Linked DNA regions of Homo sapiens: all the other regions are linked to region 4. The links are contacts of gene promoters, found by promoter capture Hi-C in blood cells and fetal thymus (Javierre and others, 2016). All regions are on one chromosome and are shown on one strand. Each heading gives the region's core, a stretch centred on a gene start or on the middle of the fragment in contact. The rest is flanking DNA. Distances are from core to core; before and after follow the strand shown. Region 1 overlaps SYK (spleen associated tyrosine kinase). Region 2 overlaps LOC105379829 (a long non-coding RNA gene). Region 3 has its middle 12 kb from the start of LINC02957. Region 4 holds the start of AUH (AU RNA binding methylglutaconyl-CoA hydratase). Region 5 has its middle 6.3 kb from the start of LINC02957. Region 6 holds the start of LOC105376143 (a long non-coding RNA gene). Region 7 has its middle 28 kb from the start of LINC02957.

Evidence for each region. The method cuts DNA at HindIII sites, captures the fragments that hold promoters and counts their contacts. A CHiCAGO score of 5 or more calls a contact.
Region 1: a contact is called between a fragment that was not itself captured here and the fragment with the promoter of AUH in region 4, in 1 of 17 cell types (naive B cells). The highest score is 5.2, in naive B cells.
Region 2: a fragment that was not itself captured here is called in contact with the fragment with the promoter of AUH in region 4 in 1 of 17 cell types (activated CD4 T cells); the score reaches 6.4 in activated CD4 T cells.
Region 3: a contact is called between a fragment that was not itself captured here and the fragment with the promoter of AUH in region 4, in 6 of 17 cell types (activated CD4 T cells, M2 macrophages, total CD8 T cells and 3 more). The highest score is 10.0, in activated CD4 T cells.
Region 5: a fragment that was not itself captured here is called in contact with the fragment with the promoter of AUH in region 4 in 2 of 17 cell types (endothelial precursors and activated CD4 T cells); the score reaches 7.0 in endothelial precursors.
Region 6: a fragment that was not itself captured here is called in contact with the fragment with the promoter of AUH in region 4 in 5 of 17 cell types (activated CD4 T cells, naive B cells, endothelial precursors and 2 more); the score reaches 9.6 in activated CD4 T cells.
Region 7: a contact is called between a fragment that was not itself captured here and the fragment with the promoter of AUH in region 4, in 1 of 17 cell types (endothelial precursors). The highest score is 5.7, in endothelial precursors.

What each region holds. Positions count from the first base shown.
Region 1 is chr9:90,888,966-90,892,429 of GRCh38, forward strand. All of the region lies in intron 13 of SYK (spleen associated tyrosine kinase), which reads left to right. Among named protein-coding and RNA genes, the nearest start is that of SYK, 89 kb to the left of the region's middle. The HindIII fragment of the contact is 3,574 bases long and covers 1-3,096 here.
Region 2 is chr9:90,947,145-90,950,692 of GRCh38, forward strand. The region is part of intron 1 of LOC105379829 (a long non-coding RNA gene); the gene reads right to left. Among named protein-coding and RNA genes, the nearest start is that of LINC02957, 48 kb to the right of the region's middle. The HindIII fragment of the contact is 4,284 bases long and covers 1-3,548 here.
Region 3 is chr9:91,007,465-91,010,901 of GRCh38, forward strand. No RefSeq gene overlaps it. Among named protein-coding and RNA genes, the nearest start is that of LINC02957, 12 kb to the left of the region's middle. The HindIII fragment of the contact is 4,761 bases long and covers 1-3,437 here.
Region 4 is chr9:91,359,906-91,363,246 of GRCh38, forward strand. AUH (AU RNA binding methylglutaconyl-CoA hydratase) reads right to left here and starts at 2,013. Exons shown (of 10, transcript NM_001698.3): 1 at 1,723-2,013. The coding sequence starts at 1,984. RefSeq lists a silencer at 1,744-2,183. The HindIII fragment of the contact is 2,357 bases long and covers 367-2,723 here.
Region 5 is chr9:90,988,960-90,992,557 of GRCh38, forward strand. No RefSeq gene overlaps it. Among named protein-coding and RNA genes, the nearest start is that of LINC02957, 6.3 kb to the right of the region's middle. The HindIII fragment of the contact is 611 bases long and covers 1,248-1,858 here.
Region 6 is chr9:90,931,044-90,934,239 of GRCh38, forward strand. LOC105379829 (a long non-coding RNA gene) reads right to left here. Exons shown (of 4, transcript XR_001746828.2): 3 at 1-1,013. LOC105376143 (a long non-coding RNA gene) reads left to right here and starts at 1,908. Exons shown (of 3, transcript XR_001746829.2): 1 at 1,908-1,996; 2 at 2,127-2,230; 3 at 3,183-3,196. The HindIII fragment of the contact is 3,910 bases long and covers 1-3,196 here.
Region 7 is chr9:90,967,097-90,970,276 of GRCh38, forward strand. No RefSeq gene overlaps it. Among named protein-coding and RNA genes, the nearest start is that of LINC02957, 28 kb to the right of the region's middle. The HindIII fragment of the contact is 3,335 bases long and covers 53-3,180 here.

The DNA.
Region 1 (3,464 bases), core at 60-2,559, 470 kb before region 4:
TGGCAGAAGCACTCGGTAGGGGATGGTATACTTTCCTGACTCCCTGATTACCATGAGCAGTGAGGGGTGACCTCGGACTCTGGCCAGCTCACAGATACATTGGCTAAGGTTGCACTTCCCTAGAATCTACCTCATCCTTGAAGTGGTGGCCTCAGTCCACCCTGACTGCCGTCATACGTCTCGCTTAGTGGATCCCAGGTGCTGTTATGCTTTTAAAGTACACCTGGCATTATTCTTAGGTGATGTTCAGGGCAGCTCAGCAAGGAAGGAAAATGCATTGCCACTGAAAATTAGGAGTACAGTTTTGCCAGGCTCAGCAGCCTGCTTGTGCGTGCATAGCACGGTGACCCCAAGCCGCCATCTCCAGTTCCCTGGTACTGAACTGTGCACACAGAGCCCACACAGCTGAGAATCGATGTGGTTTGTGATCAGGAGGACATCACAAATCCTGGCCATGGATTTGATGCTTTGCGGAATCAGGTTTGCCTTCAGATACAGCTGACATTGCCAGAGCCTCTGAAAGATGAGGGCTATTCCAAATGCTGCAGATGCCACCTGGGATTCCGAGACCTCCCCTCCCCACCCTGGGAGTATCACTCTACCACAATTGTGAGTGACAGGGAAATAATCTCATTCTGTATCTAGAAACCACCCAGGGGGCAGCCACAAAGGCAGCAGGCAAACTGTGGGTATATGCTTCCCTGCCCCTGCTGCTGCCGTGGCTCAGGAGAGGAGCCTGGCCTGGGCCCCGGAGCATCTTCTCCAACCCCAAGTGTTAGTGCAACAGGGAGAGCTAAGTGTCAGCAAGAGGGAAGTGCTACTCATGGATCTAAGAGGATGTTTATTCCTAAGTCTTGGCTTAATTCTCCCAGTGCCTAAACTAGAATCGTAAGAACCATTGGCAGGTAGGCACTGGCAGCACTGGACCCTGGGGAGGGCAGCCCTTGGGCACGTGGCAGCCTATGACCCTTTACTGAAAGTGTTCTTTGGTCCAGCCTGCAGCTCCCTTTGCAAGGCTTCCCTTCTTGTAGAAGGGTGAGGAGGGTAGAGTTTAAAACATTGTGATACAAATGCAAAAACTTTGAATTAAAAATGAACTCGCAGTGGGGGAGTTTTTGCATTTAACGTTGATGCTGATCTATGTACTTCTGTCGATTCTTCTTTGTGGTGTGTGTTTAACAGTGAGGAGTGAAAGGTGGGTGGGAAGAGAGCAGGGTGCGCAGCCAGGGGCACCACCTCCCACTTGGCTCCCAGGTGGGTGCAGTGAGGCTGCTGAATACCCTTTGGGCTCGTGGTGTATTCTTGTGACTCAAGGAATCAGGATAGGGGCTGCTGGGCCGACCTCTGTCCTCCATGGACGCACGTAACAGTGGGCAGTTATTTCCAGAGTGGTCCACCAGGGGCAGACCGGGGAGGGAAAGCAGTCTACGTGATATTCACTGGATGTTCACCAGAATTACAGCAAAGTAGAGCAGTAGAACAGTCTCCTTAAGAGAGTATTCTTTCTAAACGTATTTTCCCGCCTGGAGATTTAAGATGGAACCTGAGTGAGGTTCACAGGCAGGCAATGTCTTTCCCCTTGGTTCCCACCCCAGTCCGCTCTGCAGGGGTGCATTTCAGTGAGTTCTGCAGGCTTGGAGGAGTCAGCTCCAGGGCACAAGCCCCAGTCAAAAGGAAATCATGACAATGGCCCATGCCCCATATTAGAAATCACAGCTCTTTATCAGACTTTGATTTATTTCCCAACAAAGCTATATTTCTGAAGGTTACAGTGTTTCTAGTAGTGACCTCAAACAGGGTTGGGGGAGGTGGGGAGATGTTCTGAAACTTTTGAAGCAGCTGTGTTTGTCTGGGGTAATACCTGAGCTCGTTGCCTCACGCCAAGGAAATCAAAGATGCAGACACACAAGAAGTGAGTTTAAGAGCAGAGGTTTAATAGGCAACAGAAAAGAGAAAAGCTCTCTTTCCTGCAGAGAGACAAGGGCTCCCAAGTGGTTCTTCCGGCTCCGTGTGGAAATGCAAGGGTTTTATAGACGAGCTTGAGTCTGATTACATAGGGCCCAAAGATCGGTTGGACAGCCAGGCCATTTACATAACACGAAAAGAAACTGGCTGCCCCACCCTAATCTTTTATTATGCAGATGAGGTCTCTCCTTGGCCGACGCCATGTTGCCTGCTTTTTTTTTTTTTTTTTTTTTGAGACGGAGTCTCACTCTGTCGCCCAGGCTGGAGTGCAGTGGCGCGATCTGGGCTCACTGCAAGCTCTGTCTCCCGGGTTCACACCATACTCCTGCCTCAGCCTCCCGAGTAGCTGGGACTACAGGCGCCCGCCACCACGCCCAGCTAATTTTTTTGTATTTTTTAGTGGAGACGGGGTTTCACCGTGTTAGTCAGGATGGTCTCGATCTCCTGACCTCATGATCCGCCCGCCTCAGCCTTGTTGCCTGCTTTTTTACTGCACACGTGGCAACAAGGAAAGTGGAAGAGGGAACCTCCATGTTGAATATCCCTGGCTCCAGGGATCCCTTTTCTATTGACACAGCTGCCGGCATTTACCTATGTGAGCTTTTAGCTTGCTTAGCTATGCTTGCAGCTTGATTTTTCAGGCTGCTTTTTGTTATAAAAGACATGATTTAGGAGCTGCTTTTTATTGCAAGGAAACCTTACAGAGGACTCTGTTACCCTCACTATCTGCCTAAATAATTTCTTTCTAGCTCTGAATCACTTTGTCTAAACATAAGAAATTCAATGAGGTGCAGTTGAATGAAAAAAAAGGAAAAGATTCCTTGGAGCAGGGCCACAAGGAGAACTCAGAAGCGCCAAGGGCTGGTCCTGGTAACCCAGGCTATTGCTTGAGGCCCTCCAGAAGATGCAGGGGGTCCCTCACTGCAGGCATTGTCATCAGTTCCAGGGTGTGGTCCTGGAGGGAATTCAAAGGGACTTCCCAGCCTCAATGACAAAGCCCTGAGAAGGCAGACAGCATCCCTCACCCTTGTAAGACAGCCAGAGATTACCTCCAACCCCTTTTTAGTCTTAATGGACTCTTCAGCTGGACCTAGAAACCAAATTGATACCAGGCCAGATTAACAAAAGAAAAGCTTACCAATTTTACTAGTTTTACATGTTTATGGGGATCCTCACAAGACAGTGAAGTCTAAAGAAGTGGCCAAAACAACATGCTTTTATAATCTTTAGACAAAGAACCATACATTTAAGGAGAAATGACAGGACAAATAAAATCTGGCTAGAAGGAGTAAATTTTCTAGAGAAGGCGCTAGGAGATATGAGGAGGGTGTAAAACCAGTGGAAGATAAGGGATACTGTGTTAAATATGTTTACTCAGGCCCATTGCAGCTCCAATGCCCAGTCTCTGATGATAAGGGGCATTTTCTCATCCTGCTACAGGAAGGGTCTCCTTCCCAGAGGAATCTTTATGGCTTGCTGCAGGCATGAAGAGACAGGTC
Region 2 (3,548 bases), core at 215-2,714, 410 kb before region 4:
CTGCTTTTCCCTGGGGGCATTTTACAGTTTTAAGAGGGCATTTGAGAAGCAGGGCAACAGGTTCAACAGGCTCAGAGAACAGTCTCCCAAGTCAAGGAGGGAACAGAGCATGAAGCCAAGGAGAAGTGTGGTAGAGAGGGATACTTTATTTATGTCCAAGGCAGATGGCCATGCAGTCGTGAAAGAAAAATCTTCTCAATAAGTGGTAGTGGCTTTGCTTCAGATCCATATGGAAATAAGAGAAAATTGCTACCTTATACCACACACACACATTTGCAGGTCTAAATATGAAAGTCAGAACACATCTTTTGAATAAAAATGTAAAAGAATATCTTCTTGAACATTGGCTAGAGAAAGACTAATTAAACAAGCAGTAAAATGCATGACCCATACAAGGAAAAACTTGATAAATTATTCTACAATAATTCTAAGACCCCCTAGTCATTGAAGACACCAGGAAGAAAGAAAAACGTAAGCAGCAAAGTGGGAGGAGATATTTGTAGTGTGTTTAACTTGAAGAAGATTTCTGCAAATTATTAAGATAATGACAACCATGTAGAAAATGAAACAAGAGACTTCAAATGACCAATAAAGATATGAATAGGTAATCAAGGAAAATTAAATGAAAATCACCATGCCCCATGCATCAGAATGGCCAACACAAAAAAGCCTGGCAGCACCAAGGCTTTGGTTGAGGTGTAAAGTTATAGAGCCCTACCACCCTGGAAAGGGTTTAAGTCAGTACAACCACTTGGAAAGACTGCTTGGTGTAAATTATTAAAACCAAGGTCATGAAGAATGGAGGACCCAGCACATTTACCTCTGGGTATGTCGGTTCCGAACAGCATTGCATGGACAAGTACACCAAGAGGTAAATACAATTCTTGTGGCAGCAGTGCTTTCTACAGCCCCTAATTGAAAATGATCCAAATGCAAATCAATAATAAAGATGTATTCCTAGGTATGGAACTACACAAGAATGATCTACAGCTAAACATCATAGCAAGCCAGATACACCAGAACGCTTGCTGCACAATTTCATTAAGATAAAGATCAAAACCCAGCAAAACTAAGTCAACTATTCAGTTGCTAAGGGACAGCAAGGAAATGATTTCTATAAAAGTTGGGATAATTGTTACCTTTCGGGGCAGGTCCTCTGGGAGTGGCAAAGTTATCCTTTCGACCTGAGTACTGGTTATGCAGGTTTACTTTGTGGATAAATTATCTTGGTCCTGTGTACTTTTCTGGTTGTATTTTATATTTCACCATAAAGAGAAGATAAAAGGAAAATTGACACTCAACCCTCATTCAGTGAAGCCTTTGGGAATAGGCTCTGCCTGGTTTTTTACACTCCATGCCAACATCGACACGAGTGTCTACATATAGACGCTGCTGCATTTCCTTCTAGGTGCTGGATCTCATGGCTGATCATGTCTCTGGGTTTGATTTCGGCACACAAAGCTAAGCACTACCTGGATGCAACTGCAACCATTCAGGATGCAACTGCAAGCCCTTCTGTGAGACAAACTTACTTTGGGCTTTATTATTTCTTCTACTCCTCATTTTTCTATAAAACTTCCTCAGTGATTCATTTGATTCTTTCTTGTTATATATACGTATATTGTGATAAGTAATGTTGCTTCAGTTTGTGTAAGTAGCACTGTCTTTGCTATCTATTGTTATTGCAAACAACAGCCCTACAATTTACTGAATTGAAACAATGACAACTGATTATTCCCCATGACTTGGCAATCTGGGCTGAGCTCAGCTGGGCTGGGTAATAGTGTCTGATGTGGTTGGAACATCCAGGATGGCTTCTTCACTTGGCTGGGAGCTGCCTGGACATCCTTTCTCTCCATGTGGCCATTTTCCCAGATGGGTAACTGAATTTCCTTACCTGAGGCTCAGCACTGTAAGAGAGGGTGTCCCAGGAATATAAGCCCAACCTGCATGCTCTTATCAAGCCTGGGCCATGCTTTCTGACATCCACTGGCCAAATCAAGTCAAAAGCCAAGGTCACTGGGAAGGACAGCACAAGGCGGTGAATATCAGGGATCATCAGGGCCACGAAAATAAGCCCATCACGGATACATGGGAATAATCAAATGCATATATTCAGAAATGCATAGAGCAATAAAATAACTTGGAAAATATTTCTGTATCTCTGTAAAAGTTTTCCCTTGTTTGTCAATTTGACCAACAGCTTACTAGTGATCAAATCTCTACCAGTTTTAGCACATGTTCTCCATTTGCAGCATGACTGCTTAGAAAGTTTTCCCTAAGATTAGGCATTTTTATGAACACTGTGATGCTCATAAACCTCAGAGGTGGGAGATCCAAAATAAGTCTCAGGTCCCAGGGACCTAACATTAAAGGACACAGCTCCTCCAAAAAATGTGCAATGGGAGGAGAATTGAGGTGCCATGGGCTTGCCCAGGGCCTGGGCACTCCAGTTACCTTCCTGGAAGGCTGGCTCTGACCTCAACACCTTTCCTGAACTTCTCAGAGCAATCTCCTTGCTGCATTGTCCCCTCAGCCTGCCCCACTACTAGAAATCCCTGTCTTGGTATTTTGGTATTTTGAGATGAAAACCACAGAAGACAGTAGGAACTGCTGGGAAATTCACCTGAACAAACAGGACGTGAGAAAGCCCAGAAATAAGGCATCATCCTTAGACGAGGGGGCCATGCAGTCTGGGGAGGAAAGTGTCTGGACCATTCAAAATCTGGATTGCAAATCTTCCATCACCCCGCAGCTACTTCCTTTGTAACCCTCTGGAGCACGCTTCCTTCTCCACTTTCCCTCATAAGCATTTCTACATTCAGTGCCTGTAGATGGGGTGGCTGGCCAGGGTTCCAGACTGTTTGCTACTGCTGCTTCCAAACAGCTACAAGCTGCTGAGTTATTCCTCTTGTTGGTTGTTCGTGGAGCCACCATAAGATACCCACCACAGTCTCTGATCCCTGCCTGCCTGGTTGAGCTGTTATGCCACATCGTTTCCCTGACTTGGTCTCCATGCAGGGAAAATCATGGCGTCTTATTTAGCCTGTGCCTCAGGACTGATGCTGGCAGAACTGTTTAAACAACAAATAAATGTGCTTAAAAAGTCCTTTCATTTTGTCAAAAGAAGGGAACTAACAATTTATGAGAGCTTACTATATGCCAGATGCTTTATTTATTCCCTGACTTAGTTCTCACAAAAAACACTTGAAAAACATATCATTATACCTATTTTCACAGTCCTGCAAACTGAAGTGCAGAAAGGCCAAGTCAGTGGTATGCAAAGGCTCCACAGTCCTGATAGCGCTATAAGAACACACTTGAAAATGTGTTTCTGACAAATGTTCTGATCTGCCTAAAATACTTGAGTTTTTTTGAAAGGAAGAAACCATTGTTGATCTAATATCTAAGGAAGAAAGTGTTCTGTTTTGTTTTTAAATACTGGGAGCTGGTTTTAGGTAAGAAAGTCCGTGTGATATTTGGTAAGGATTACTAATCCTTAGAAAGAGACACAATTGGTGTCAATAAATAAGGCCAATAAGAATAAC
Region 3 (3,437 bases), core at 655-3,154, 350 kb before region 4:
TTAGAAAATTCCCATATGTTTGGAAGGTAAGGGATAAATTTCTAAAGCACTCAAGGATCAATGAAGACATTACAATGGAAATTAGGAATTATTTTGAACTTGATAACAAAAATCTAAACACTTGTGAGATGCAGCTAACACGGTGCTTAGAGGGAAATTTTAAAACTTAAACAGATACATGAAGGAACATAAATAACTAAATACCAAGTGGTCTAAGTATCCATCTAAAGAAATTAGAATGAGATTACCAAATTAATTTTTTTTTAAAAAAAGGCAAAGTTGGAGAAAGAGAATAAAATGAGAGGACAGAAATTTATGTAATAGAAAATAGACATCTAATACAAAGGCTCAATAAAGCGAAAGTTCTTTCTTTGAAAGAAGCAACTTGTCAAACTCCTGCTAAGACTTATCAATGTAAAAAAGAGGACACAAATCCCAAGAATCAGAAATGGAGGTCAGGAGGGGGGCACATCACTATAGCTTCTGGAGATAGGAATGTGATAGTAAGATGATAATTACAATAAACCAATAAACTTAAATTTTTAAGAGAAAAGTAAACAAATTCCTAGGAAACTCCAACTCACCAAAGCTGACTCCAGAAGAAATAATAAACAAGGATAATCCTTTAATATTGAAGAAATTAACACCATAAATTAAAACCTTCTCTTAGAGAAAACTCCGGACCCAAATGGCTGCCCAGTGAAAAACTAATGCAAATCTTACACAAACTCCTCCAGAGAACAGAAATCAATGAAACCCCCAGGAACCTGTTTTCTGAAGCCTGCATGACCTTGACACCAAAACCAAGCAACATCATTGTAAGAAAGGAAAAGAACAGGCAAATTCCTCTCATATATATAGATGCAAAAATACTTTTTACAGGGAAGGGAAGGAAGGTGAAGGGATGAAGAAAAGTTGATTCATGTGTACAAGAATATCGTTAGAAGGAATAACTTCTAGTATTCTATAGAACAGCAGAGAAATTATAGTTAACAATAATTTATTGCATATTTCAAAATGGCTAGAAGAGAAGAATTGTAATGTTCCCAACACAAAGAAAATATAGTCTTGAGATGGTGGATATTGCAGTTACCGTGATTTGATCATTACATAATGGATACAGGTATCAAAATATCACATGTAGCCCCAAAATATGTATAGCCATGATATATCAACAAAAATACAAACAACATTTTTTTTAAATAAACGAGTGATGATTGAGAGAGACAGGAGACTTTCGAGAGCAAAGTGGCAGGGTCCTCTTCACTGTGGAGGTTTGTCAGGAGGTCAACTTTGGCTGGCTGGTGTGGAGCATTCATAGAGTGTCCTGTCCTCCCTCACCACCTCCTGCCCAGCAGCCTGTATCACATAGGCCTTGTTGCCATCTGTGGTCTGACTCCACCCGCTTTTATTTGTGGTTTGGGAGACACCTTATCAACTCATTTTGTTATGTTATTCATAGATAATGAGTTTTTATTATTTCAATTGCTCTGGTTGGATTTGTTGAGGGTTTCCAGAACATTCACAATTATGCCACCACTGCTGCCTTCTTATGCCTTCTTACTCAGGGTTTAACCCACGCCTTTAATATCAATGCTAGTGCACAGTATGTATGCTGCATTGTTTTTACAGCAATTCCACCATGGATAGATATTCAGATTGTGTTCTGTGTTTTTCTGTTACAATAAATGCACGAGAATATCTTTGGGCATATTTCTATTTTTTTAATTTTTGTAAAACATATTGCTAAAAGTGGGATTTCTCCATCATAGAGTTAACAGATACTGTCAGATTACTTCCTCTAACATTTGGGGCAATGCACACTCCCATCTGTAAAATCAGGGAGTACAGTTTCTCTAAATCCTTTCCAATATTGGATCCTATAAACTTTCTCTAATTTGTTAAAATTTGATAGTAAATTTGGCATTTTGTTGTTTTAATTTTAATTGTCCTCATACTAATGAGGTCGAGAGTTTTAATTTTCTCTTACTTTTTGCATTTTCTCTTGCCTGTTCATATCCTTTGATACTTTTCAACTGGACCTTTATTTTTCCTTTTCTGAAGAAGTTCTTTGTATATGAGAGATATTAAACCTTTCTCCACATATAGTTCAAATGTTTTACCCTGTCACTTGCTATTTGACTCTCTCTGTTTTTTTGCCATATAGAAATGATTAACTTCCATCGTGAAACCAGCCTCTGTCTGCCTGTATGTCCTTTGAGTTTTGTTTGTTGCTTGACAAGGCCTTTTTCACCCCAAGATTAGGCAACATTCTTCTATATTTTCTTCTAATACTTGTATGGGTTTGTTTTACACTTAGTTATTTGATATGGTTTGGATCTGTGTCCCCACCCAAATCTCATTTTCAATTGTAATACCCAATGTTTGGCAGTGGGGCCTGGTGGGAGGTAATTGGATCACAGGGATGGTTTCTCACGGTTAAGCATCATCCCCTTGGTGCTGTCTCATGATAGAGTTCTCATGAGATCTGGTTGTTTAAAAGTGTGTGGCACCTCCCTGCTCTCTCTCTTGCTCCTGCTCCTGTCGTGTAAGACATGCCTACTCTCCCTTTGCCTTCCGCCATGATTGTAAGTTTCCTGAGGCCTCCCCGACCATGCTTCTTGTGCAGCCTGCAGAACTGTGAGCCAATTAAATCTCTTTTCTTTATAAATTACCCAGTCTCGGGGTATTTCTTTACAGCCGTGCAAAAATGAACTAATACATTATTTAAACTTGGACTTTTTGTGCACGGAACAAGGTAGGAGTCTATCTTTGTTTTCTTTCAAGTGACTGATTGTTGTTTACTTAGAATTAATTCATTTCCACCTCCTCCTTACTAACGAAATCTCAAACTTGTTCAGAACATAAACTCTCTGCCATATTCTTCAGAGAAAGATAATCCTAATCCAGAGATTACATTAGGTTGTCTAAGCTCATAGCTCTTTCCAGAGACTGGCTCAAAAATTGGCACGTGAACCAATTCTGGTGGAAAAGATGTGAGGAGTGCTGTGCTGGGGGATTTGGGGAAGGTTCTCCCTTGCTCTTCTGGGTCCACGTGACATGCTATCATCTCTCTTCCTCAGAGAAGGGGCCCTGAGTGGGTGTGAGGCCTGGGGGTGCTATGGCATCTGCCCGCCTATGCAGAAGGGTCTGGCACAGAAGAGGCACCACTGAGAGACTCTCTGGGAGTGGAGGCAGAGCCATCAGAAACCCTGTTCTGAAGGCCTGCATCTCTACGGTTCCATCCTCCTTAAAACTGAGGAACAGCCTTCCTTTATGTCTAAATGTGTCTCGTTAAATTCATTTTCATTTACTTGATAGCTTTTATTGTTATTATACATTGGCAGTTTTTCATTTAATTTCTATCTATTGATGTTATCTTTAAAGGTATTAATTTTATGTTTTATTTTGTGTACAAAATATCTTTTGAATGCAAC
Region 4 (3,341 bases), core at 763-3,262:
ATGTTAGCCAAGCCTGAGTCGTCATTCTTGCCAATTCTCAAAGGAGGCGGGGTCAACTTTAAGAAACCATGATGTATGTCCTATCTCATCAGGAAATCAAGGCTAAAGAAAAAAAAAAAAAGAAACCATGATACCCAAAAAAATTTTCGTTTATTATCTTTTATTATCTGATATTCTCTCTTCTGTCCATTCAGATCCTAACTTAAAGTCTGTCCAGACATTCTGCACAAATATTCCTTTAATTGCATTCAAGTCATAACGACCAAAAAAATAGAATATGGTGCATATTAGTAGCTGTACTTGCAATCCCTTTATATCTAACATATTGTTGGTACACTTAACGGAAGTGAAGTCCCGGCATGACTAAGCTTACCCAAAAGATGATGGCATTCAGGCTCTAATCACTCCAGTGCTAGTCTATGCTTCCAGCTGAATTTCTTACTATTCTGCTTATGCCACACTTGCCTTATGTTACGTCCCAAATACACCACACATGTTCACATCTCCATGCCTTTGACCATGTTCTTGTCTCTGTCTGGAATAATAAGTAAGGAATAAAGTCATTCATCACACTCCTGAAGCACTGCTACGTGCTAGTGGCAATTTACATTAACAATCTCATCTCATCTTCATAACAAACCTATAAAGTTGGTATTGTTTTTCCTGTTTTACACGTGAGATAAGTCTGCCCAAGAACCCTCACAAATGGCAAAATCCACTGCCTATTAAAGAATGCCTTGGAACCCCTTTCAAATGGCGAAACCCTGCAGGTATTACAGCCCTTTCCTCTTACCATGCCTTGAAAGTTCACACAGCCTACTAATAACCAGGATCTGCTTCACTACACTAAAACCAATCACGACTTACACGCTTTTCACTTCTGCTTAACAGATTATAGGTGCTCAACAAATGCATGTCAAAATTAAAACACTGGTCCTCTGGCTTAACCCGGAGGTTAAGGGTGGAAACTGCTATTCCACCCTTCACGACCCTTTTAGCTTTTCCCTGCACTGCCAGTGAAAGGAACTGAGCTGTAACAGTATTCCCTAGGATTGTCAGCCTCCTTCAAAGCCTTCAAAGCTCTGTATTGTATTGCTAATGATGTCTCCTCCCGTAGAAGGTAGCTCAAGGGCAAGATCCATACCATCCACATTCTTATCGCCAGAGCTGAGGAAAATAAAAAGTGCTCAAAATTGTTTAAATGAAGTGGAACAGTCCCTCAAGACTAACTTTCTAAGAGAAAATGAACAAGAGGAAAAATTGTTCCAGCTGAGCAGCTTCAAATTTAAGATTCTCCGTAATAATAAAAGGCAGTTTCACCGCAGCTTTTACAACTCCACCACTAATAGCTGAGTTTACAGAAAGCCATTACACAGCAACAATAAAGCCTGGTAGCAAGGATTAAATCCCCAGGGTATATATTGACCTTGGCTTGTCTGGAGCGGAGGGCGTAAGCTGCACTTCTGTTTGCCGCGCTGAATGCGGTCACTTTACAGGTAAGCTGCTCGGGGGTACACGTTTAGGTTATTAAAAGCAAGAAATAGGTGCACAAGGAAGCGGCCACGCTGGGTGAGTAGGGAGGTGAGAAAGGGGAGGGACCCAGGTTCGGTGCGCCTGCCTGACCTCGACCCCGCGTCCTGCCGGCGGACGCTGCACCTTATGCCCGTCCTGAGAGCGAGCGGCCGCCCGCTGCCCCGCGCCTGCCCAGCGTTCGCACCTCACCTCGGTTCTCCTCCTCCAGGTGCCGCACCCGCAGCTCGTCCTCCGTCTTCATCTCAGAGCTGTAGCCCCTTTTCGGGGCGGGACCCCCGGCCGCAGGTACCCAGCCCTGGGCCCAGATCGCCGGGCCCGCTCGCCGGCCTGCCAACGAGCCGGGCAGCCTCAACCCCGGGCAGAGCCACGCACTGCAAGCGGCCACCAGGCGGGCGCCGCCAGCATGCAGGGATCCCAAGGCCCCAGGTGCCGCCGCCACCGCGGCCGCCATGTTGTCTGTTTACGGCGTGGACCTGCGACGGCCGCTCCGCCCCCGCCCGGCGCCGACCTGCCGCGCGCACGCGCACGGCGTCCGGACCCGCCGCCTCGCTCCGGCTTGGCCCCGCCCTCCGGAGCCGTGTTCCCGCCCCTCACTGCCCCGCCGAAGCCCGGTGACCCGAGGCCTTGCCCCATTCTCCAAGCGAGATTGGATGGTTTGTCCAATACAAAAGGAAAGAAAGTAGTTTTCCAAGGTTATGGAATAATTCAGGGAAGACTTTTCTATAAGAACCACCCGGAGGGAATTATCTCCCCGTACTCCCTGGACCATGCCCTGCGGTCCTGTGTTAAGTAAGCTGCAAAAGTGAACAAAAAAGTTTTGTCTCCTCAAGTTGGCTGAAAGTGTGGCAGCCCATCGTTGGTCACTGCCTTACTTATGGATCTCAGGTTGTTGGTTTAGCGTCCCTGATAAGCATAAATGATGTTTACTACGTGGCGTTCAGGAAAAGGATGAGAACAGCAAACAGGCAAAGGAGTTCTTTCTCCAGCCCACCCACTCGTACCGATGTCCCATGGCCCTTCCTGGACGGAAAGAGTCTTACAGGGGTTCAAACAAGCCATACGCTGAGATGGGATTTAGAGTATGTAGCTCTTCCAGAAACTCGGGATATCAATTTAGTGTGTAGGTACTCATCAAAGCACGTTGCAGTATAATTAATGCTACCTAGCTTTTATCAGATCTCTAATGGGAAAGCTTGCATTTAAGAATACTGGGCAGGGGGCGGTGGCTCACGCCTGTAATCCAAGCACTTTGGGAGGCCGAGGCAGGTGGATCACCTGAGGTCAGGAGTTTGAGACCAGCCGGGCCAACGTGGTGAAACCCTGTCTCTACTAAAAATACAAAATTAGCCAGGTGTGGCGGCACACGCCTGTAATCCCAGCTACTCGGGAGGCTGAGACAGGAGAATTGCTTGAACCCGGGAGGCGGAGGTTGCCCTGAGCTGAGACTGCACCATTGCACTCCAGTCCAGGCAACAAGAGTGAAACTCTGTCTCAAAAAAAAAAAAAAAAAAAAAAAAGAATACTGTTTGAAAAGTGTGCTGCTATGAGCATACGTCTAGTGCCACAGAAATTTCTTGTATTTTTTAGTCCTAAGCAAAACATCCTTCATTATGTCCTCAACTTTTATCCAATGTAGAAACAAAAAGTAGACTGAATTCCATTACTGCATCTGCTGTAAAATGATGTTGAAGGCACTTTTATTTTTATTTTTATTTTTTATTTTTTGACAGGTTCTGGCTCTGTCGGCCAGGCTGGAGTGCAGTGGTGTGATCGCCTCTCGCTGCAACCTCTGCATCTCAGGCTCAAAT
Region 5 (3,598 bases), core at 303-2,802, 370 kb before region 4:
GACTATATGGCACATTGTAGAACTGCTCCATAAATATTAGCTAATTACATTTTTATAGTTGCTATCTCTTTATGTCCCTTTCATATACCTTAAGTACAGTAAGTGTTCAATAAATAGTTGTTTATGGAAGTTAAGGTTGTTTGTTGGGATTATGGAGTCTATTAGTTGGCTATTGTTGTGTAACAAATTACCATAAACTTAATGGCTTCAAACAACTTCCATTCATTATCTCACAGTTCTGTAGGTCAGAAGTCCAAGTGGGCTCAACTGGGGTCTCTACTTAGGGTCTTTCAGGGCTGAAATTTTGGCTGGGCTGGGCTCTAACCAAGGTTCTGAGGAAGAGTCTGCTTTTAAGCTTGTTCAGGTTGATGGGAGAATTCCATTTTTTGCTATTGCTTGACTGACTTCTCCATTTCTTTGTTAGCTGTCAGTCAAGGGCCATTCTCAGCTCCTAAGGCCATTTGCATTCTTTGCTCCATGGCCTCCTCTATCTTCAAAGCCAGTAATTGTTCATCAAATACTTCTCATACTTGGAATCTCTCTGACTTCCTCTTCTTCTACCAATCAGATAAAACTCCACTTTAAAAAAATAGATTTAGGAGGTACAAGTGCAGTATTGTTACATGTATGTGGATATATTTCATCATGGTGAAATCTGGACTTTTGCGTACACGTCACTCAAATAGTGAACATTGTACCAAATAGGTAGTTTTTTAACCTTCACCCCATTCCCATCTCCTCATCTTTTGGAGTCTCTAACATCTGCTATTCCACTTTATATGTCCATGCATACCCAGTGTGTAGTTCCCACTTACAAGTGAGAACATGCAGTATTTAACTTTCCGTTTCTGAGTTATTTCACTTATGATAATGATTCCAGGTCCATCTATGTAAAACTCTATATTTAAAGGGCTCATATGGTTAGGTTAGGCCCACCCAGATTATATTTTTATTTTAACATCAACTCATTAGTGACCGTAACCACATAGGCAGGATTTCTTTGCTATATCACTTAACCTAATCATGGATGCTGCAATGGGGGCAGAGATCATTAGGGCCACCTACAGTTCTGTCCACCAGAGTACAAACTCTGGCCCCATAATTCACTCTCACTTGCAGAAAACATTTACCTGCTCCCCAAGGTTTCCAACAGTCTCATCCCATTATCACACTAGATAAAGTCCAGAATCTCACCAGCTCAAAAGCCCAAAACTCATTATCTACTTATCTGAATCAGGTGTAGATAAAGCTTCTGAGTGTCACCCATTAAGTACAGCTCCAGGGGCACAATTTGTCTCCACCTACACACCTGTGAAATAAAAGACACAAGGTATCTTTCTCCAATACTCCCAACACACAATGGTGGAAAGAATAACAGTTATAGAACTCAAGTCCAAAATTGGGGAAATGGAAGGTAAAAAGGAGTCATTTGTTTCAATCTGTTTTGAAACCCAGCTGGGCAAAATCCACCAGGTCTCAAAGCCAGGTAACCTGTGTCTCTCAGCTGCTCTGGGCTTTCATCTTCAACTTCTGGGCTCCTGCTTTAGCTCTTAGAGTCATGCTCCGTTTTTCACAAAAGGTGACAGGTGTTTGCAGCTGGGGAATTTTATCAGTCTGCTTTTGCCATTTTGTAATATCTATATTCCATTTAGTCCTAGTTGGCATCTTTATTTTCTGCTAATCTGTTTTGCTAAAATATTTCCACTAATACAATGTTTTTTTCTAAAGTGTGTGGGCCTTGTGTGTATTTTCACTGGGTTTCTCTGCATTAGACAAAAGCTATACACACAAATCTTTCTCTAATAATCTCTTCTCTATCTTTGGCTTCTGCTTGGAGTGCTGAACACCAGTGTTTTTAAGCTTCCCAGAGGCTCTCTGGTTTGATTAGAAGATCTACATGGAACACTCTTAATCCCTTGGAAGAGTCATTATGTGGCTGAATACACAAGACCTCTGAGCTTTCCAGGGTTTCAGCAAAGAGCTGCACAAACACATATTCAGCCTTTTCTCTATGTCATAATTTTGGCATCCATCTCTGACTTCTAGGGGTATTTTTTGCCACCTGGAGAGGCTAAACTTTTGAAATTATCAAGTCGTTGTCCCTTCAATAAGTCTTCCTTCAATATGTCTCTCTTCTATTACATTTTAACATAAAAAGCAAGAAAAAAACAAGCAGCACCTTCAACACTTTGCCTGGAAATTTCCTTAGCTATATATTCCAGTTTATTACTTATGAGTTCTGCTTTTTATGTAACAACTGGACACAATTTCACTAAACTTTCTGCAATTATATAACAAGGATCTCTTTTCTTCAGGTTTCCAATAACGTGTTTCTCACTTCCTTCTTGGCCCATGTCAGTAGTATCCTTAAAGTCCAGATTTCTACTAGCAATCTGTTTAAAGTGATTCAGCTTTTTCTATAATGCTCCTCACTTTTTTCTGAGACTTCACTGGCAGAGTCTTTAACACACATATCTCAGTCAACCAATCAAACTATTAGAGTCCTTTCTAACCCATCACTTTAAAACACTGAGTCCATACTCTCAGTGAGCCTGTATCAGTAATTTCAGACTGATACAACTTTATATTCCTTCCACTTTGATGCCACACCCTTAAGATCCATTCCCACACATATTCCCCAGGTTTCTGTCACTATAAGCTAGAAACATCACATAGTTCTTTTGGTGTCCATCACACCTCTCTGTGGGTCACAACTTGTACTTCACCTTAGGATCTACTGGGACTTGAGCCTCACGATAGGTCTCTAGGTCCAGAGGAGGATCAGCAGTGCCTATAGGGTCACTAGGTCAGAAAAGCTCATCATAAGTCTTCAGTAAAGGGGGGATAACCTCAGGCAGGGGGAAGAAGCTGCTTCTACTGTTGTACTGGGGGTCCCCAAGACCACTCCCCACCTCAGTGATTATCTAGGAGGACTCAGCATACAGTTGTACTCACTGTTATAATGTATTACCTCAAAAGGATAAAAAAGCAAAATCAGCAAAGAAAAAAGGTCAATAGGACAAAGTCTGGAGGAAACTAGGCACAGCTTCCTAGAGTCCTCTCCCTGCAGAGTCACAGAGCCTGGACTAATTTCTCCAGCATCTAGTTGTGACAACTCCTGTAAAATATCATCTACCAGAGAGACAGACCAGGGTTTTTATTGAGGGCTGTTCACACAACCACTGTCTGCTTAGCACATACCAAAATTCCAGAGTCCCAGAAGGAAAATCAATCTCAGCCTAGATCAAATTGTTTGCACAATCAGGTTAAACAGCGTGAGCAACCTTTGCCATTTAGGGAATAGGGAAACTCTCCCAAAATCCAAGTTCCCAGAAATCAACCAAGGCTCAACCTTATAAGCAGACCTTTCTAAGGAGAGCATTCTCAGGCCTTGCTCTGTTAAAACTCTTTCCTACACAGCTGTCAATGAAGACATGGTAGAATTTAGGGGTTTGAGGCCCCCAGTTTGCTTGCATCTCTTCCTATGTCCATACTCCAGTTTTCAAAATCCCACTTCTTCCCAGTCAGTGCTCTAAATTTCACAAAAGACAAATTGTGAGTTAATGAATTCAATTTGCTTTGTAATTAAGCCATGACA
Region 6 (3,196 bases), core at 129-2,628, 430 kb before region 4:
GATTGTGTTCCATTGTGCAAAGAGCTACTCTAGGCAGCCTAGTGGACATGCCGGATGACTCCACCCATGGTGCTTCCAGCAAGAAGTTAGACAATGGAGTGGGGAGAAAGGATGCTGGGCTTCCTCTGGCTCTCAGATCACCCACCTTTATTATGATTAGGAAATTGGAAAACCAGCCACAACCAAATGCTTCAGGAATACCTCGCCTTAGGAGCTAGGGACCAAAAAGAGGCCCAGAACTATGAGTGTCTGCTACTTGCTCATGAGCAAAATGGCTGCTCCAAGCCCTGCTCTTGACACTCACAGAGCCACTGCCCAGAAATCAGGACCTCTTGCTAAAACTGCTGCAGAAAACCAGGACCTCTCCACTGTGCTTCACAATGGAAATGGCAGACACGGCAAAGCGCAGCCCCCACTCCCTTCTGTCCTGTAAATGGCAAGTAAGTGCACCTAGTCAAAATGAAATAAAATCAGGCCCAGAATCTAGCTGCAAGGGAGTTTGGAGAATGTCATTTTTAGTATTACAACTTCTGCACACAGGCTGGAGAGTAGAAAGCGTGCAGAGCTCTGGTCCGCCAGGATCCAGTGCAACTCAGAGTGCAGATGCATTGATTTCCAAACAAGAATTGCTGTCAATTGACTGCAGGGTAGACCATAAGCATTCCGGGTCTCATGGGACCGCACTTGTCTCTCTTCTTTGCCTGCGAGATCTCCCCCAGCTCCTGTACTCAGCAGTAGTCACCCCTGCAGTAGGTACTGTGAAGGAGGATGCTGAGGTCAAGGAAGAATCTTCAGCCTCAGAAATGTCTTTGATTGTGAAGTCACAGAAGCTGCCTGGGTGGCAGACTGCTTGTGCACTCCTGTGCAGATCAGGGGCTGCAACCCAATTCTTGCCCCACAGCAGGTCAGTGAGAAGGCAGACCTACAAATCAGCATGTGCTTGCTTCATATGATTTGTCTCATTTAACTGGCCAGACAGCTGAGGCTTAAGTGGTGTTATCAAAATACCAAGGCTGAAATAAATCAACATAACAGAGTTTTAGAACAAATAATCAATATAAAGATAATTAAAAGTAAATACATAATCTGAAATAATTTGGGGGAAATAATTCAGGAACAGAATGAAGAGGGAAACCCTCAGGTTCTCCTCGAAATATTGTAAGTGAGTCAGAAAACAGGACCAGTAATGGCAGAGGCAGAAGAGCGGCAGGAGACGGCGGTTACCCCACAGCAGAACGCTGCTCTGTGAGAATCCCCCAGCAGGTACCCCATTCCAGCTGTGGTTCGCCTACAGGCAGTCAGCCTCCCTGAACCTCTGCAGAGGGCAGGGATAGTAGATCTGCCCTTTAAGACCCATGCAGAGGTGCTGAAATGACAGTATTGGTACTCTGGATACAATGGAAAGTTCATTAGGGCTGATATTAATGGTAGTCACTGTCATATTTTCAGTTGCTTTCAGCAGTATTTGGGCCCCAGGATACTGATGTTTGCTCAATACATGAGCCTGCAGAAGTAACTGGGAGCAAACACCTGATATCAGTATTAAGCATGTGGTGCCGAGAACAATATGTTACAGAATACTGCAGACCCACTTAAATCATTCTTTTGTCTAAGAATGTGGGGTGTTCAGTGGATAAGTGAGAGTCCATGGATTTTGCTCTATGGCTGATGAAAGGAACGTGATGTGTGACATTTAGCACCGGTGTCAGGAATGGCTCTCCTGTTGGCAAACTTATTTCGCACGTGCCTATTCATCATCTATCCTGGGCACCTCACTCAGGTCCTCATGAGTCCCCTGTCTTCTCAGCAAGCATTACCTCTCTACTCAGACCAAGGCCTTGTGAGGGATGGAGGGTCACTAAGATGCACTTCCTGTCCTGAAGACATTGTCAGTCTCCTGGGGAAGACGGACTTCAAGAGAACAAAGACGAACACTGGATCCCTACTGGATTTGGAGGTCTACAGAGAGGGCTGCATTTTGTCCAGAATTTGGAAGGTAAAAATGGCCAGAAAAATGCAGAGAGGGAGGTTCTAACCCAAAGGAGCTTTATCAGTCAGATGTTCAGTATGGTGCTGCTGTAACCAACAGTTCCCTTGGAACTGACACGTGTCATATGTTTCCCCAGCTTATCAGACACAGGGGCCAGGAACAGAAGCCTCCCACAAGCCCAGAAGGACATACTTAATGCACAGCACTGATTGCTACAGGGACCAAGATGGGGACTTACAGGTGCATTTGGGGAAGAGGGCACTGGCCAGAAGGCCAAATCCACGCAAGGTGTGGGTTTGGGGAGGAGGGATGTGTCATAACAGAGTTCCCAGGAACAGCCTCTGACTTGTGCATAGGCAGTAGACTGGGGGTGCCCCGAGGGTCAATGCCCATAGGGAGTAAGGAGACAGGACTGGGTAGCAGGAGAATTTGAGCTGTGGAGGCCCAAGGAAAGGCTCAGCTGGGGGCACTTCAGGCTTGTCCTAATGCACCAGGCTAGACCTTCGTGCACCTCCTAAACCAGCCATTGGATGGGGGCAGCTCAAGGATGGGGTAGAACCTGGCTGAGGGCAGGCCCTGGGGAGGGCTCAGCTAGAGACTTCAGTAGCATTGCTCCAGCAGGAGGCGGATGTGGGTGCCAGCCACAAAGGAGTGTCCTATGGAGCACTATTGTCTCCAGCACAGAAGAAAGCCAGGGGCCTGGAGATGCCAGGCTAGAGATTCTCAAGCAGTCATTCTTGTATTGCTAGAACCACAGGGGCAGAAGATTTCAGAAGTGTCGATGGGTAATGCCTTTCCTATGGGCTTGACTGGGATGTACACTTTGCATAAAGTATATATTGTGAGGGTTTAACAACACACAAAGGACACCTGCACCTTGGCAAGAGAAAACGTAACAGTATGTGTAATATACCATCTGCTTTTCAGGTGTGGGAAAACTGTATGCAAAAACAAAACCCAAAAAGGACCTGAATTTCTGCCCCTGTTATAGTGTGATGTAGCAGACAGACCTGGCATATTTGACACCCTGATTACTGCCAACACTCCTCTCTTCCATAAGACAAAATTGTCAGTAATAATCATGACATGAAATAAATATGCATGAGCTAAAATCTGAACTTACCTAATAAATATGGTGCACCTCACAGTTCTAACCCTATGTCGCTGTCTGGAATTTTAAACACAAATGCAGATTCCAAGTGGTCA
Region 7 (3,180 bases), core at 470-2,969, 390 kb before region 4:
GCATGCAGCCTTTCCCATGCCTCCAGCTTCTCACAGCATGACCCAGACAGAAAGCTTCTGAAGACTATGATTTCCAGGTCCCCACGTAAAAGCTACATGGCCTCCTTTGACCTGGGGAGCCATGTGTCATGACAGCTAGGCCAGATCTAAGGGAAGGGCTTTAGTCTCCCCTACTCTTGTGGGAAGGGAAGGGAAGGCCCATATTGTAGAAGAGCTCGTGAGATGGGAGATGTTGACGTCAGCTTTGGAAAATGCGAGCTTCCCCAGAATCTGACCATGGTGACGTGGGAAGGGACTTAGGACCCTCCCTTTCTCCTTTTACACATTGTGAGGCTCTGAGTAGGAGTTGGAACCTGGGTTTCCAGACCCCCCGCCCCCGCCCAGAGCTGCTTCTACCAGGCCACACACACTTCCATTTACATTTCAAAGAAAAGTTGCTTTATGTTTCTCTTCACGTGTTTTTTTTTTCTTTCTGCCTTCTGTGTTCTCTAGATCAAATGAAGAAAGCCCATTTATTATTTATTCCAGGTATGTCCTAGATGCATACAATTTCTTCCCAGTGATTATTTAAGATAAAAATGAAGATTGGGCTTTATCTTTTAAATGAGAGTCAAACAAGCACCCTGGCTTGTTAACAGAGAAGTCAGTGCCATACCCTGCATTGCTTCTGCAATCTCCTTAATCTGCTCTTTCGTGGATGCATTTAGTGAATCCACCTGGCCCTGATTAACTGGGCTTTGTAAAGAAAGGCCCCTCACATGGAGTCAGACATTGAAAGATATTCAGTGTTTTAACATTGAGTGGGGAGGCAGGGAAACAATGGGAATTCTCTTATAGTAATGATCCATTTTAGGTCACCTTTCACCATTGGACTACATGAGTTGGGATATAGGCTGCATGGCTATAACAAAGGCCTGAAAATACAGTGGCAGAAATACATTTATTTCCCTCAAATACAAGACGACAAAGGCAAACAGCCTGGGCCAGTGTGACTACTCTGCCACTTTCAACACATGGCTTCTATTTCTGGGTTCCAGGCAACTACTCCAATTTCCTAGATTGAGGGGTCAGGGGGAGGAAGTAGTGGACATTTCCCTTTTTTCCTAAGGCACACATCGCTTCTTTTCTCATCTCATTGGCCCAAACTTGGTCACATGGACATGTCTAGCAGCAAAGGAGTCTAGGAAATGCAGTCTCTAGATGAAAGTCTAGGCATGCAATTAAAATTCTGAGGGTTTCTATTCCTAAAAGGAAGAAAAGATGAATGGATGTTGGGAACAGTTGGCTATCTCTGTCCTGCACTAATACATTTATCTTCTTGGTTTCCCATGAAGAAGCAGAGATCATGGGAATTGCTATGGGGTAGCACTTGTTATGGACCAGGGATACAAGTTGCCACAGCAACCACACTAACTGGCTGGTGCCACCCACAATGTTATCTTTTTTTCTCTACCCTTTGCATAAGTGATGTCTCTAAATGAGCAAGATTGTAAGAAACAAATGCTGTGGACTGAATGTCCACTGTTTCTTGGTCATTGGTTCTCTGTAACAGTCTGTTAGTCTTTAGAGCCAGATACAACTGGGTTCAAATCCCAGCTCTGCCAATAGCTATGTGGGGGCCTCAGTTTCTTCACCTAAAAATTAGATACCCTATTACTTGCTGCCTAGGGTTAACGTGCGGGTAAAGTGAAAGAATGTAGGTGAAGCACAGTGCCTGGCACTTAATAGAAACTCAAAAAAGGGTCCTAACCATTACCATTACCAGGAAGGACATACTCTATAAGAGCCTGGTTTGCCAGTCTGATCAACAGATTTGTGTCAATTGTGGCAAAGGAGACCCTGGGGACCTCCAGAAGCCTCCTGTGCTGACTCTCCAGTGCTTACTGGGTCCACCTCTAGGGCCAGCCTCACCCACCACATTGGCTTGAGGTGCAACTGGAAAGTCTGAGTCAATTCATTCTTCCAATGCTGCCCCAAAGAGGGTACAGACTTCCCACCAAGCCCTACCTCAGTTGACTTTGGCCTTCCTAGCTTAGGCTGAGCCTCTTGGGAACACAGCAGCCAGCACCTGGCTTCCGCGTGCAGTTAGACACCCAGAGATGAGCCGGGGGAGTTCAGAACGCCTTCTCCCTGTGAGCCATGTGGTGGCATGCTTGACTATTGCGATGTTGGCTAGACACTCTGGCTTTGTAGGAGTCTGGGATTTGGGGGTTATCTTCTTCAGGTCACATGGCCCTCGTTTAGAATCTGGGGTCCCCCAGCCGGGATTCCCATCTTTCAGAAACACCTCAGCCAGCTTAAGGCATCTGCTCCAATGGTCTCCATGACAACCCTGAAGAGCCTGCAGTGAGCAGCCAGCAGAACTTGCCAGCCGAGAGGCTCATCCCACTAATTGGATAATGTATATGAAAGAGCTGATCACACCTGGCACCTGAATCAAAGGGTGAACTCACCAGACATGAATCATGCCAGCCTGTTAAGTAGGTACAAGCGTTTTTATTCCTGGCCATAGGAGCAGCCTTGCTTGTAATTAACCATCATCCCTAATATCTGTCTAATGCCCATAACACCCCCGAGAGGAGTTTTGTCATTCTTATTTTGTAAATGAGTAAGATACAGAACTTAATCAGAACTCAAGGATTCTTATTTGGTGGGCTGTTTAAGCTGGAGTAAATGTTTGTTTTTTACTGACCATCATGATGTCAACATTGCCTTTAAAAAACAGGGAATAGAAGAAGAAAAGGAAAAAAGGAGGGAGGGAGAAAGAGAGAAGGAAAAAAGGAAAGAGAAAATGGTGATTAGATGGTGTGGTGTGGAATCAACATAAGGTTACCAAGTGTGTATGATTTCACAGATGTTAAATACCATGACTACTGCTATTAACTACTCCCGCCACATCACCACATCTGCAGAATCTAAGACAAGAATGTGAGAAAAAACAATGACAGTCCTAAAGGACAATTGGCAACTTGGATCACCATCCCCCCAGGGTCCCCATTTTCCTAATTTCCACTTAGAGTAGTTACAACTTGAGCATTCCCACACATAGAAATCAAAGGGCCAGGCCTCAGCACCAGGCTGCACCCAGTACAGCCAGACTCCCTTCTTGCTTCATTACAGTGGGCTTGCATTTGCCTCCAAGGATGTCCAGGGCTCTGGAAACCAAACCTTCCAGCCTTT